Regions from separate parts of the Homo sapiens genome. Here region 2 is linked to region 1. The links are contacts of gene promoters, found by promoter capture Hi-C in human tissues and cell types (Jung and others, 2019). All regions are on one chromosome and are shown on one strand. The core of a region is centred on a gene start or on the middle of the fragment in contact, and the rest is flanking DNA. Distances in the headings are between cores, read along the strand shown. Region 1 holds the start of FAM91A1 (family with sequence similarity 91 member A1). Region 2 has its middle 18 kb from the start of TMEM65.

Evidence for each region. The method cuts DNA at HindIII sites, captures the fragments that hold promoters and counts their contacts. A contact is called where the count stands out against the background at its distance.
Region 2: a fragment that was not itself captured here is called in contact with the fragment with the promoter of FAM91A1 in region 1 in 1 of the 25 tissues and cell types used here (hippocampus).

The regions. Positions count from the first base shown.
Region 1 is chr8:123,763,835-123,770,265 of GRCh38, reverse strand. FAM91A1 (family with sequence similarity 91 member A1) reads right to left here and starts at 1,827. Exons shown (of 24, transcript NM_144963.4): 1 at 1,492-1,827. The coding sequence starts at 1,563. It overlaps LOC105375739 (a long non-coding RNA gene), which reads right to left. Exons shown (of 3, transcript XR_928607.4): 2 at 5,358-5,483; 3 at 4,020-4,121. RefSeq lists a silencer at 1,492-1,641. The HindIII fragment of the contact is 9,142 bases long and covers 1-6,431 here.
Region 2 is chr8:124,387,125-124,393,682 of GRCh38, reverse strand. No RefSeq gene overlaps it. Among named protein-coding and RNA genes, the nearest start is that of TMEM65, 18 kb to the right of the region's middle. The HindIII fragment of the contact is 9,306 bases long and covers 29-6,558 here.

The sequences.
Region 1 (6,431 bases), core at 578-3,077:
AACAATCCTCATACTGGCTGGGCACTGTGGCTCACGCCTGTAATCCCAGCACTTTGGAAGGCCGAGACGGGCGGATCATGAGGTCAAGATATCGAGACCAGCCTGGCCAACATGATGAAACCCCGTCTCTACTAAAAATACAAAAATTAGCTGGGCGTGGTGGCGCGCACCTGTAGTACCAGCTACTCGGGAGGCTGAGGCAGGAGAATCGCTTGAACCCAAGAAGCAGAGTTTGCAGTGAGCGGAGATCACACCACTGCACTCCAGCCTGGGCAACAGGAGACTCTGTCTCAAAGAAATGAAAATAAAAATAAAAATAAATAAATAATCCTTATATACCATCACCGCCACCATTCCAAACTTCCCAAAAATGCCACTGCCGAGTGCCAACAGAAAACTGAATTTCACTCTCGACCAAGTATAATGGGAGGAAGCGAAGGTCAATCTATGACCAGAGCAGCAGTGCGTTATCTGTAGCCCATATCACTACTTTCGTAAGACTTAAAACCATCTGCTATGTTACGTATTTATTCATTTATTTGTTTACGTCTTTCTTTAGTAAAATGTAAGCTCCATGAAGGCAGTCTTTGTCTTGTTGACTGTTGCAAATTACCTGCACCTAGAGCAACGCACAGCACCTAGTAGGTGGTCAATAAATATCTATTAAACAATTGAGTAAAACAGACTAAAAAAATCGAGAATTAACTTTCAAAAACCTCATGTCACTCTTGTTGAAACATCTCTGATAAACCCATCTTGTCTGGAGGATAAAGTCCAACAAAACAAAGCACACAAGCACCTTCAAAATCTGGCCCTGACCACTTTTCCAGGCTCATCTGCTACCAGCCCCGCGCACTCAAAAAACTTCAACTCCAAACATGTCAGTCCAAACTCTGGTGATACAGTCACTTGCTACTCATGAGACATGTTCTTTCACTCATCCAAGCTTTGTAAAATGACTTTCCCTCCCCCTGGAAAAATCTTTATTCCCTCTTATTTAACTCTTATTCGTCCTCCAAGGCCCAATTTAAGTGCCTGCCTTAAAAATCCTTCCAACTCTCCCAGGATAATTTCTCCCTCCCTCTGCTCTCACATATACTACAATGCAGGTGTGTATGAGCTGCTATCATCCTGTATCGTATTCATTTGTTTCCCATCCCTTTCCCACCATCCTGAAATTCCGGAGGTCAAGGACCGTGTTTAAAATCTCTATCGCAGGTGCCTGGCTGAATGTATCCTGCGGGCAAAGGCGCCAGTCGAGTCCTGTGGACACCATGCCATCCCATTTAGCGATCGCCCCGTCCTGGCCCTGTGGCCCCACAGCCGTCCCCTCCTCGCCCTGGGCTGAAGGTCCGTCTCCCCAAGACCACGGAGGAGTAAAGGAAGGGAGTCAGCCGGCAGCAGCCCGCTCGGGCCCCGCGAGCGAGGCAAGCAGGTGACCGCTGGGCGGGCCGAATCCGTCAGGGGCCCGGTCCCAGGTTCCGGCCGTACCTGTCTCACGTTGGCCGGCAACTTGTTCCAGGGGTAGTTGTGCCGGATGTGGAACTCCACGTCTATGTTCATGATGCCGCGGCCAGGGCCGGCGGCCGGGGCCGCCACCGCGACCCACACTACGCCTCCCGCCTGCCCGCCCGCAGCCTGTCAGCGGAGCGACGCGGGAGGCCCCGCGCCTCACACTGCAGAAGGCCCAGGCTGCCCCATGGCCTAGGCTCCCGACAGTTCAGCGCCGCCCGGGCCAACCGAGTACAAGAGCAGCAGCGATTGGAGGCTGGATCGCCTGAACAGCTCCAAGTTTCTTCCTAGTTTCGGGCCGCCGGAAATGGCTCTGGGCACACGTCACTTCCGCCCGCTGGCGCGCGGCCGGAGGGGCGGGGCACGGACTGGCCTCTAGCCACGCCCTCTACAGGCTGCGGGGCGGGGCGACGACGAGGTACCGGGAGGTGCCCGGGTGAGCGTTCCCCGCCCGCGCGCTTCGTCTCCCCGTTTCAGTCTCTGAATGAACGGCGATAGTCGCTTGGGTCTGCGTTGCCGTTGCTGATGACCCAGTTTACTCAAATTGTAAAGCCGGAGGCACTGGGGTCGGTTTTCAGAGAAAAGCGACCTGGGAAGCGGGCCGGCAGTGGCTGGCTTTACATTGGAGTGCGGTGCGCTCGCGGGGGTTCTCCACAGGCCAGCCCGGAACCCGGGCCAGTGAGACGGGGCGGGGGGTTGCGGGGACGGGTCCAGGGCCCTGGAGAAAGAAATAATCTCTAAGTCAGGTCTCGCACCGGGTTGAGCGAGAAGCATGGGCAGTGGGAGAGCAAAGGTCTGGTAAGCCCTCTTCCCTTCCGCGGTGTGCTGCACGTCATTGGGCTCCACTTCCCAAGAAGATCCAAATTCTTACAATGCAGGGATTCAGGGAGCTGAAATTTTAAACAGTGGTGCTGACAGGTCGAGGCAGCCTACAGGGCTGACAGAGAGATACCCTTGCCAACTTTGTCATGCAGCCTGTCGGTTTCTGCTTTATTCTGCTCCACACAAATGCCTCCAGAGTCACTTAAAAGCAAAAATCCAGCATGTCTTAATTTCAGATTGAGTGATAAGGTCTTTGGGAATAATTTCTTTCAGAAGTTGTTACGCTGCCTTAGCAAACCCGTGACCATTATTCCTGGCAGCAACCAGAGACAAGTTCAGTGTTATTGCAACTGTTTTTCAGTTTTTAACAATGGTTTTAAATAATGTTTTATTATATACTGGGAGATGTATACTTAGAACTTTTTATAAGATACCTAGCTCACACCTCAACAGCTGGCAAGTCTGATGCTTAGCAGAAACCCCATTATGTCTGATGAAATAAAGGTGACAAGTACACACTGCCCTTGCTTAGATGTTTTGGTCTCCTATTATCCAACTATAATAACCCAAAGATAAGTGCTTTGAACCTTATGTTTACAGATCCTCATCAGCATAGCTAAGGTTAACTGAACTCTAACCGTGAGACATTTATTCAACAAATATTGATTACCTGCCCGCCATGTATTAAGGCCTTGACTTGACAATAGATTATTCCTCACAACCCTGATATTCCTACAACAGTAACCACTTACTATCCCAGTTTGATAGAGGAGGAGACTGAGGCTTGGCAGGGCTTCATGACTTGCTCGCAAGATCACACAGGTAGCACTGACAGAGCCAAACTGGAGCCGAAGGCTATCCTCACTCCAGAGCCATCCTTTCAGTTCCCCAACTCAGGCTCTCACTCACTGAACTCTTCTACCTCCTGTTCCAATTTAGACAATGTTCATTCAAAGTCAACGACATAAACATCCTCTAAAATAATGCTTTACAGTTCTAAGTGTGGAAGAACCCATATTCTTCCAAAGTCTAACTTAGATCTAATGCAATATAAGTAACAATGAAAATTAAAGTCAATTTAGCTTAAAAAAATCCCTGTAAACTATTATTTTAGCTAATGATAGCAGTTCAGCAGGTGAATGCCTGATAAACTCACTATATTGAGTTTAGTGGACACATCAAAAACTATAAAAGTGAACGTGGGATAAGTAGAGGTGAACCTACACCCATTAAATTAATAAGGCAAACAGACCTTTGAAAATGCGACCCTGTGACTAGAAAAGATTCTCACTCGGCAAGTAGCTGAGAAAAGCAGACACATGAAGGAGGAAATGGGAATGAGATAGAGCTATGTGGATGGGAAGAATTCAAATAACAAGCCCTTACGAGCAGGAACCAGTGATGGACTCTGGCTTAATACACAATCTTATTAAAGTACTGATCTGCCTCATTTCCCACCAAGGACCAGTCTTTGAGAGGATAGGAGTTCAAAGACGGTAAATTAACCCACAGGGCTCTATGACCCCCTCTGCTGGGAAGTTCAGGAACAGTACTGCTTCCCCAAGCATCAGAAAGCTGGAAACAGTCGCTCACTAGACTGACTCCACATGTGACACTCATTACAGCACCTCACCTTTTCGTTTAGCAATAATGTCCTTCCTTTACGTCCCTGACTGAGGCTCCTGCTAATTTTTACTTTACTAGACCTTTGGCTTTTCAAATTCCACAGAGGTCAGAAACTGCAGAGTGTTTAAGTCCCATCCCAGAAGCTGCCATTCGAATTAACACTGTGGGTTAAAAAAAAAAAAAAAAAAAGTGTTCAAAAGCACAAACAAGTGCAATGAAATTCAGTCTTATCTGGCTTTACAAGATCAGATTGAGGAAAACTGCCCAACTAGCTTAGGCAATTGGCCCTTTAGAAAGACTACAGAACTATTTCATTCCCAAAATTCCAACAGAAATAATGAGCAGAAACTACCTGAAAATAGGGAGCCATCTAATGACCCCACTCATAGACTCCAGAATGTCATGCCCTGTGGTAGGAATAATAATAGTCCCCAAAGATGTTCACATCCTAATGCCTAGAACTTGTGAATTTGCCCCTTATATGGTAAAAGGGACTTTGCAGATGCAGTTAAGCATCGTGACATGAGGAGATAATCTTGAATTATCCAAGTGGGTTCAAGATAATCACGAGGTCCTTATTAGAGGGAGGCAGGGGGTCAGAGTTAGAGAAGGTGATGTGACAACAGAAGCAGAGATCAGAGTGATACAGGGCCACAGGCCAAGGAATGTGAACAGCTTCTAGGAACTGGAAGAAATGGATTCTCCAAAAGGAGCACAGCCCTGCTGAGCCATTTTGAGCTTCTGATCTCCTGAAATGTAAGATAATAAATGTGTGTGATTTCAAGGCACCAAATTTATAGTAATTTGTTACATCAGCAATAGGAAATTAATATACTCCCCAACAATAAAATATTCCAACACCCAAATAGCTGATGCATCAAATGTTATAATTAAAGTCATTGTGATTAAATGCCCTTAGGAGGAATAATTCCCTTTAAGCCTTATTATTTTTTAAGTATACATGAGCTGTCACATCCTTTTCTGAGAGCAAGTTTGAAAGAGATAGAGCTTAGGGATGAAATGAGGCTAGAGAAGCACCTGTAGGGGAGGAAATGGTGTCCAGAAAAAAGAGAGGAAAGGGAGTCACTGTAACATTTTTCTGTTTCACAATTTTGCCTGAGTCCGACCTTAGTCGTGGGTTTCCATACCGTATATGATTTGCTCTGTTCCATGAACCATTTTATCTCCATGCCAGACACCTTAGCCTTGCTTGTTCCCACCTCCCAGTTTTTACCCTTCTAATCCCCTCCACCTTGAATGCCTTTCCCCAGACCTTTGCACAGCAGGTTCCTTTGAGTCCACCTGCTGTCACTTAGAGTGGCCTTCTCCAACTACCTTGTCCAACCTAGCCACTTCTCCCCTCAACCTCCCTCTAACCTCATTACCTCTCTCATTACCTTGTTCATGTCCTTCATTGTAAGGAATTACTGTCCAACATTATCCTGTTTGGCTCCTTGCTTGTTGTCTGTCTCTGCATGGAAGGAAGGACTTTGCTTTCTTGTTCATCAGTTTATCTCTAGGACCTAGAATCATGCATCATATATAATAAGTGCTCAATAAATACCATTGATTGTATTGAATGCATGAACTAGTTATGTGATACCTGAGCTCTCAAGTGCTACTTCTCAGTTAAGCCTTCCCTGACCACCTTATTCAAAATCGTAACATATCTCCAACCCTCTGCATCCTCCTCCCCTGCATTATTTTTCTCCATAAAGTGGAGATGGCACTTATTACCATCTAATATAGTCAGTAAATGACTTAATCTTTAAAATTGTCTCTCCCATCAGACAGGAAGCTCCCAAATGATAGGGGCTTTTGCCTGTTTTGTTCTCTGCTGTGTCCTCGGCTTAGGTCAGCACATAGTAGGCACTCAGTAATATTGAATGAACAATAAATGTTGCATAGGAGCAGAATTTTCATAAAAGTCCAGATTTGGGGATTCTCTTGAAACTTTGGAAAGTCCTGCAGCATCACCCTCCTTCATACTAGACAGTGAAGCTGAGAAGAGGCTAGGCTGCCTCGCTTAGGACACAGGCTTTCCCGGGGGCCGTATTCCCCACTTCTCCCTACTGCCTCCCTTTCATGGAAGCTGTCAGTTATGCTTTGTTTATTTTGGAGTGAAAAATAATTTTGTAGCCTTGTCTTTGTGGAAAGCAAAGAAAACTTTTTAGCTAGGCTGGAAAGTTTAGGTGTCCATTGTCTCTTGCCTCACACACTTCAGAAAGACTAAGACATTTGCAATCCTCCTAAACATGCCCTATGGTTTAATCCCTTTGAATCTCTGCATAGAGAATACCGGTTTCTGGAATGCTTATCCCTCCTTCTTTACCTGGAAAACTTTTCATCTGGACACTGAATGGAATTCTGAAGAATCAGGATGTGAGGACGCAGAGGTTGGAAGAGGCAAAAAAATGCAGGGACATTTTTCTTTACACTAAAGAGTTTCTAGGACTTTCTTTTGCAATTGA
Region 2 (6,558 bases), core at 3,432-5,931, 620 kb before region 1:
GGGTGGGGAAGAATAATTAGAAGAAACAGTCTACCCAAATGAGAAGGAACTGAAAAATAATTCTGGCAATATGACAAAACAAGGTTCTATAATACCCCCCAAAAATTGCACTAGCTCTCCAAAAATGGATGCAAACCAAGAGGAAATCTTTGAAATACTAGATAAAGAATTTAAAAAGCTGATGATTAAGGTATTCAAGGAGATATAAGAGAAAGGTGACAACCAGCATAAAGAAATTTTAAAAAATTCCGAATATGAATGAAAAATTTTCTAAAGAGATATATATCTTAAAGAAAAAACAATCCAAACTTCTGGAAATGAAAAACACATTTAGGGAATTACTAAAGGCAGTAGAAAGTTTTAAGAATACACTAGGACAAGTAGAAGAAAGAATCTCAAAACTTGAAGACAAGGCTTTTGAATTAACCTAATCAGACAAAGATAAAGAGAAAAGAGTTAAAAGAAATGAACAAAGTCTCCAAGAAATATTGGATTATGTAAATTGGCCAAACCAAAGAATCATTGATGTTCCCAAGGGAGAAGAGAGAGAAAAAAATTTGGAAAACTTATTTGAGGGAAGAATTGAGGAAAATTTATCTGGCCTTGCTGCAGATTTAGATATCCAAATACAAGAAGCTTAGATAATTCCTAGGAGATTCACTGCAAAAAGGATATCACCAAGGCATACAGTCATTAGGCTATCTAAAGTCAATGTGAAGGAAAGAGTTCTAAGGGCAGTGAGATAAAAGTGTCAGATAACCTATAAAGGAAAACCTATCAGACTAACAGCAGACTTCTCAGGAGAAACCTTACAGGCCAGAAGGGACTGGGGTCCTATCTTTAACCTTCTTAAACAGAATAACTATCATCCAAGAATTTTATGTCCAGCAAAACCAAGTTTCATAAATTAAAGAGAAATAAAGTCTTTTTTAGACAAACATATGCTGAGTGAATTTGTCACTACCAGACCATCCTAAAAGAAATGCTAAATAGAATTCTAAATCTTGAAACAAAATGTAGAACCTCTTGAAAGCATGCAACTCACAGGGCTTATAAGAAATAACACAATGAAGAAAACAAAATGTCTAGGTAACAATCAGCATGATGACTGGAACAGTACCTCGCATCTCAATATTAGCATTGAACATAAGTGGTCTAAACGCTACACTTAAAAGGTACAGATTGGCAGAATAGATAGAAAATCACAAACCAAATATCTGCTGTCTTCAAGAAACTCAGTCAACACAGAAGGATTCTTATAAACTCAAGGTAAAGGGATGGAAAAAGATATTCCACACAAATGGAAACAAAAGCAAGCAAGAGAAGCTATTCTTATATCAGGTAAAATAGACTTAGCCTGGACAACATGGTGAGACCCCATCTCTACTAAAAATACAAAAATTCAGCGGGGTGCAGTGGCATCCACATGTAGTCCCAGCTACTTAGGAGGCTGAGACAGGAGAATTGCTTGAACATGGGAGGTGGAGGTTGCAGTGAGCTGAGATTGTACCATTGTACTCCAGCCTGGGTGACAAAGCAAGAGCTTGTCTCAAAAAAAAAAAAAAAAAAAAGACTTTAAAGCAACAACAATAAGAAAAGACAAAGAAAGCCATCGTATAATGATAACAGGATCAATGCAACAAGAAGAAATTACAATCCTAAATATATATGCACCTAACTCTGGAGCTCCCAGATTCATAAAATAATTACTACTGGACATAAGAAAGAGATAGACAGCAACATGACAATAGTGGGAGACTTCAACACTCCACTGACAGCACTAGACAGATCATCAAGGAAGAAAGTCAACAAAGAAACATTGGACTTAAACTACACTTTTGAACAAATGAACCTAACGTATATTTATGACAGTCTACCCAAGAGCTGAAGAATATACATTCTTCTCATCAGCACAAGGAACATTCTCCAAGATAGATCATATAATAGACCACACAACAAGTCTCAATAAATTTAAAAAATTGAAATCATATCAAGTATCTTCTCAAACCACAGTGGAATAAAACTAAAAATGAACTCCAAAAGGAACCCTCAAAACTTTACAAATATATGGAAATTAAGCAATCTAATCCTGAATGACTTTTGGGTTAACAATGGAATCAAGATGGAAATCTTTGAAATGAACGATAATAGTGACACAAGTTAACAAAACCTTTGAGATATAGCAAAAGCAGTGCTAAGAGGAAAGTCTATAGTGCCAAATGCCTACATAAAAAAGTCTGAAAGATCACAAATTCATACTTCAAGGAACTAGAGAAACAAGAAAAAACCAAACCCAAAGCTAGCAGAAGAAAATAAATAACAAAGATCAAAGTAAAACTAAATGAAATTGAAAGAAAAATACAAAAGATCAATGAAACAAAAAGTTGATTATTTGAAAAGATGAATGAAATCAATAGACCATTAGCTAGATTAAACAAGAAGAAAGGATTTAAGTAAGCTAAATCAGAAATAAAATTGGAGACATTACCACCAACACCACAGATATATAAAAGATAATTTGAGACTACTATGAACACCTCTATGCACACAAACTAGAAATTCTAGAGAAAATAGATACATTCCTGGAAACATAAAACCCTCCTAGATTGAATCAGGAATAAATAGGAACATTAAACAGAACAATAACAAGCAATATGATTGATCAGTAATAAAAAAATTGCCAAAAACAACAAAAAAGCCCAGGCCAAATGAATTCACAGCTGAATTCTACCAGACATTCAAAGAAGAACTGGTACTAACTCTGCTGAAACTATTCCAAAAGATTGATAAAGAAGGAATCTTTCCTAACTCACTAATGAAGCCAATGTCACCATAATACCAAATCCAGGACAGGACATAACAAAAAAAGAAAACTAAAGACCAATATCCCTGATACAAACAGATGCAAAAATGCTCAACAAAATACTAGCAAACTGCATCCAACAGCACATCAAAAAGATGATACACCATGATCAAATGAGTTTCACTAGGGGATCCAAGGATAATTTAACCTATGCAAGTAAACAGATGTGATACATCACATAAACAGAATTAAAACAAAAACCACATGATCATCTCAATAGATGAAGAAAAAGCATTTGATAAAATCCAGTATTGCTTTATAACAAAAACCCTTAACAAACTAACCATAGAAGGAACATACATCAAAATAATAAAAGCCGTCTATGACAAACTCACAGGCAACATTATACTGAATGGAGAAAAGTTCAAAGCATTCCTCCTGAGAAGTGGAACATGACAAGGATGCCTACCTTCACCACTTCTATTCAACACAGTACTGGAAGTCCTAGCCAGAGCAATCAGGCAAGAGAAATAAATAAAGGGCAAACAAACTGGAAAAGAGGACGTCAAACTACTACTGCGGATGATGTGATCATATATCTAGAAAACCCTAAAGACTCATCATTTTTCTCAGAATTAGAAAAAACCATCCTAAAATGCATATGAAACCAATAAAGAACTTGAATAACCAAAACAATCCTAAGCAAAAATAATAAATATGGAGGCAGCACATTACCCAACTTCAAATTATACCAAAAGGCTATAGTAACCAAAACAGCATGGTATTGGTATAAAAGTCGATACATAGACCAATGGAACAGAATAGAGAACCAATTAATAAAGACAAATACTTACAACCAACTGGTCTTTGAGAAGCACACAAAAACATACATTGAGGAAAGGACATCCTATTCAATAAATGATGCTGGGAAAATGGATAGCCTCACGTAGAAGAACAAAACTGGATCCCTATCTCTCACCATATACAAAAATCAACTCAGGATGGATAAAATACTTAAATCTAAGACCTGAAACCATAAAAATTCTAGAAGAAAACATAGAGAGAACTCTTCTAGACATGGGGCTAGGCAAAAAATTTATGACTAAGACCCCAAAAGCAAATGCAACAAAACAAAAATAAATGGGACTTAGTGAAACTAAAAAGTTTCTGAACAATGAAGGAAATAATCATCAGGGTAAACACATAACCGAAAGAACGGAAGAAAATATCTGCAAACTGTGCCTCTGACAAAGGACTAATATTCAGACTCTACAAGGAACTCAAACAAATCAGCAAGAAAAGAACCAATAGTCTCATCAGAAAGCAGGCAAATGACATGAATAAACATCTCTCAAAAGAAGATATAAAAATGGCCAACAAAAGTATAAGAAAAATGCTGAATATCACTAATCATCAAGGAAATGAAAATTAAAACCACAATGAGATACTATCCTACCCCAGCCAGAATGGCCATTATTAAAAGGGGAAAAAACTATAGATATTGGCACAGATATGGTGAAAAGGGAATGTTGTATTCTATTGATGGGAATGTAAATCAGTACAACCTCTGTGGAAAACAGTATGGAGATTTCTTTTTTATTTTTTTTTTTGAGACGAAGTGTCACTCTGTTGCCCAAGCTGGAGTGCAGTGGCGTGATCTTGGCTCACTGCAACCTCCACCTCCCAGGTTCAAGCGATTCTCTTGCCTCAGCCTCCCAAGTAGCTGGGACTACAGGCACATACCACCATGCCTGGCTAATTTTTGTATTTTTTTGTGTTTTTTAGTAGAGACGGGGTTTCACTATGTTGGCCAAGCTGGTCTCAAACTCCTGACCTCATGATCTGCCCGCCTTGGCCTCCCAAAGTACTGGGATTACAGGCATGAGCCACCATGCCTGGGCAGAGATTTCTTAAATAACTAAAAGTAGACCTACCATTTGATTCAACAATCCCCCTACTGGGTATCTACCCAAAGGAAAAGAAGTCATCATATACAAAAGACACTTGCATGTATATGTTTATCAAAGCACAATTCACATTTGCAAAGGTATGGAATCAGCCTAAGTACCCATTAAGTGATGATGAGTGGATAAAGAAAATGTGGTATACATATATACATATATGCCACGTAAAAGAATGAACTAATGTCTTTTGCAGCAAATTGGATAGAGCTGGAGGCCATTATTTTAAGTGAAGTAATTCAAGAATGGAAAGTCAAATACTGTATGTTCTCACTTATAAGTGGGAGCTATGCTACGGATACACAAAGACATACAGAGAGGCATAATGGACATTGGAGACTCAGAAGTGGGGAGCATGGGAGGGGGGTGAGGAATAAAAAAATACCTATAGGGTGTGATGTATACCATGCAGGTGGCAGGTAAACTAAAAGCCCTTACTTCACCACTATACCATTTATCCATGTAACTAATAACCAACCACATGTGCCAAAAGCTATTGAAAGGAAAAAATAAATACATATAATGTTTTAAAAAGATAGGCCCGATAGTGTTTATAGAAGTGTATATCATGATCTATACTCACAGAATCCACAAGCTCACTGGAAAAAGAACTCCAGAAGATATAAAAAAGAAAAGTGACTTTGGATATTTGATAAATTCTTGTATTACATTTTTTTCACAGTTTCCTATCACTTAATTTAGAAACCATCTTACTATCAATTTAACTTACAAGGTATGGTGTTTGCTTTGTAGTGTGATATAAAGTAATGCTGTATTTTAATCCATATAGTTTTGGGGTTGTTCATGGAATATGCCATTAAAGATTAAGTTATTTGCTACAGCAAAAAGAAGAGATAACAGAGAGCTTCCTTGCTCCTTACCACTTCCCCCTGTTTACATGCACACAAAAAAAAGTCCATTTGAATACATGGAGAGATGATGGCTGTCTATAAGCTAAGAGAAGAGGTGTCAGAATAAAACCTACCTTGACAGCACCTTGATCTTGGACATTACAGCCTCCAGAACTCAGGTAAATAACTTCCTGTTGCTTAAGCCACCAAGACTATGGTATTTTATTATAGCAGACTGAGCAGGCTAATACTTCCTCTCCCCAGTCTGCTCAGTTTAGATATATCATAATTTTAGGTTAAATCAACATTCTGTGTTATTATGCTACTGTAAATACTGCTTACCTGTCACCTTTTAATGTATTGTATTTCTTCTCTAATGGAATTTTTATTAGTAGAGTTAAAAATTGCCTCAGTTTTTGTTTGGCAAGTTTTCTAGGAACCTGTTACTAATTCATCTCCAAACTCCCACGGAGTATAACTCTCCATTCAATATTTTCAAATATATCAGATAAGCTGATTAAGTCCATCTCTTTGTTAGAGGCATACCTCCCAAGACTTCCCCTTGCCTTGGTCCCACATATCCCGGTTGCTTCCTAGGCCTGTCGCCCTATAATTTCCCTTTGTCATCCATTCTTTTTTCCTCACTACTGTCTTAGATCTCATTTCCTGAATCTCTTGGTTTATTCCTTCAATTTGATGGAGCACATCTTCCAGGTTCTTCCTGATATGAAGCATGAGATATAAATATTTTGAGTCTCTGACATGTGAAAAAGTTGTAATCAGCTCTCACACTAGATTGCTGGGTATAGAATTCTAGATTGGAAATAAGTTCCATTGTGTTCTGGCTTCTAGCATTGCTGTTGAGATGTCCGAAACCATTCTAAAAGGGGAACCTTTTTACTTGAACTTTCCTTGATAGTTATCTGCCTTCCACCATTGACTT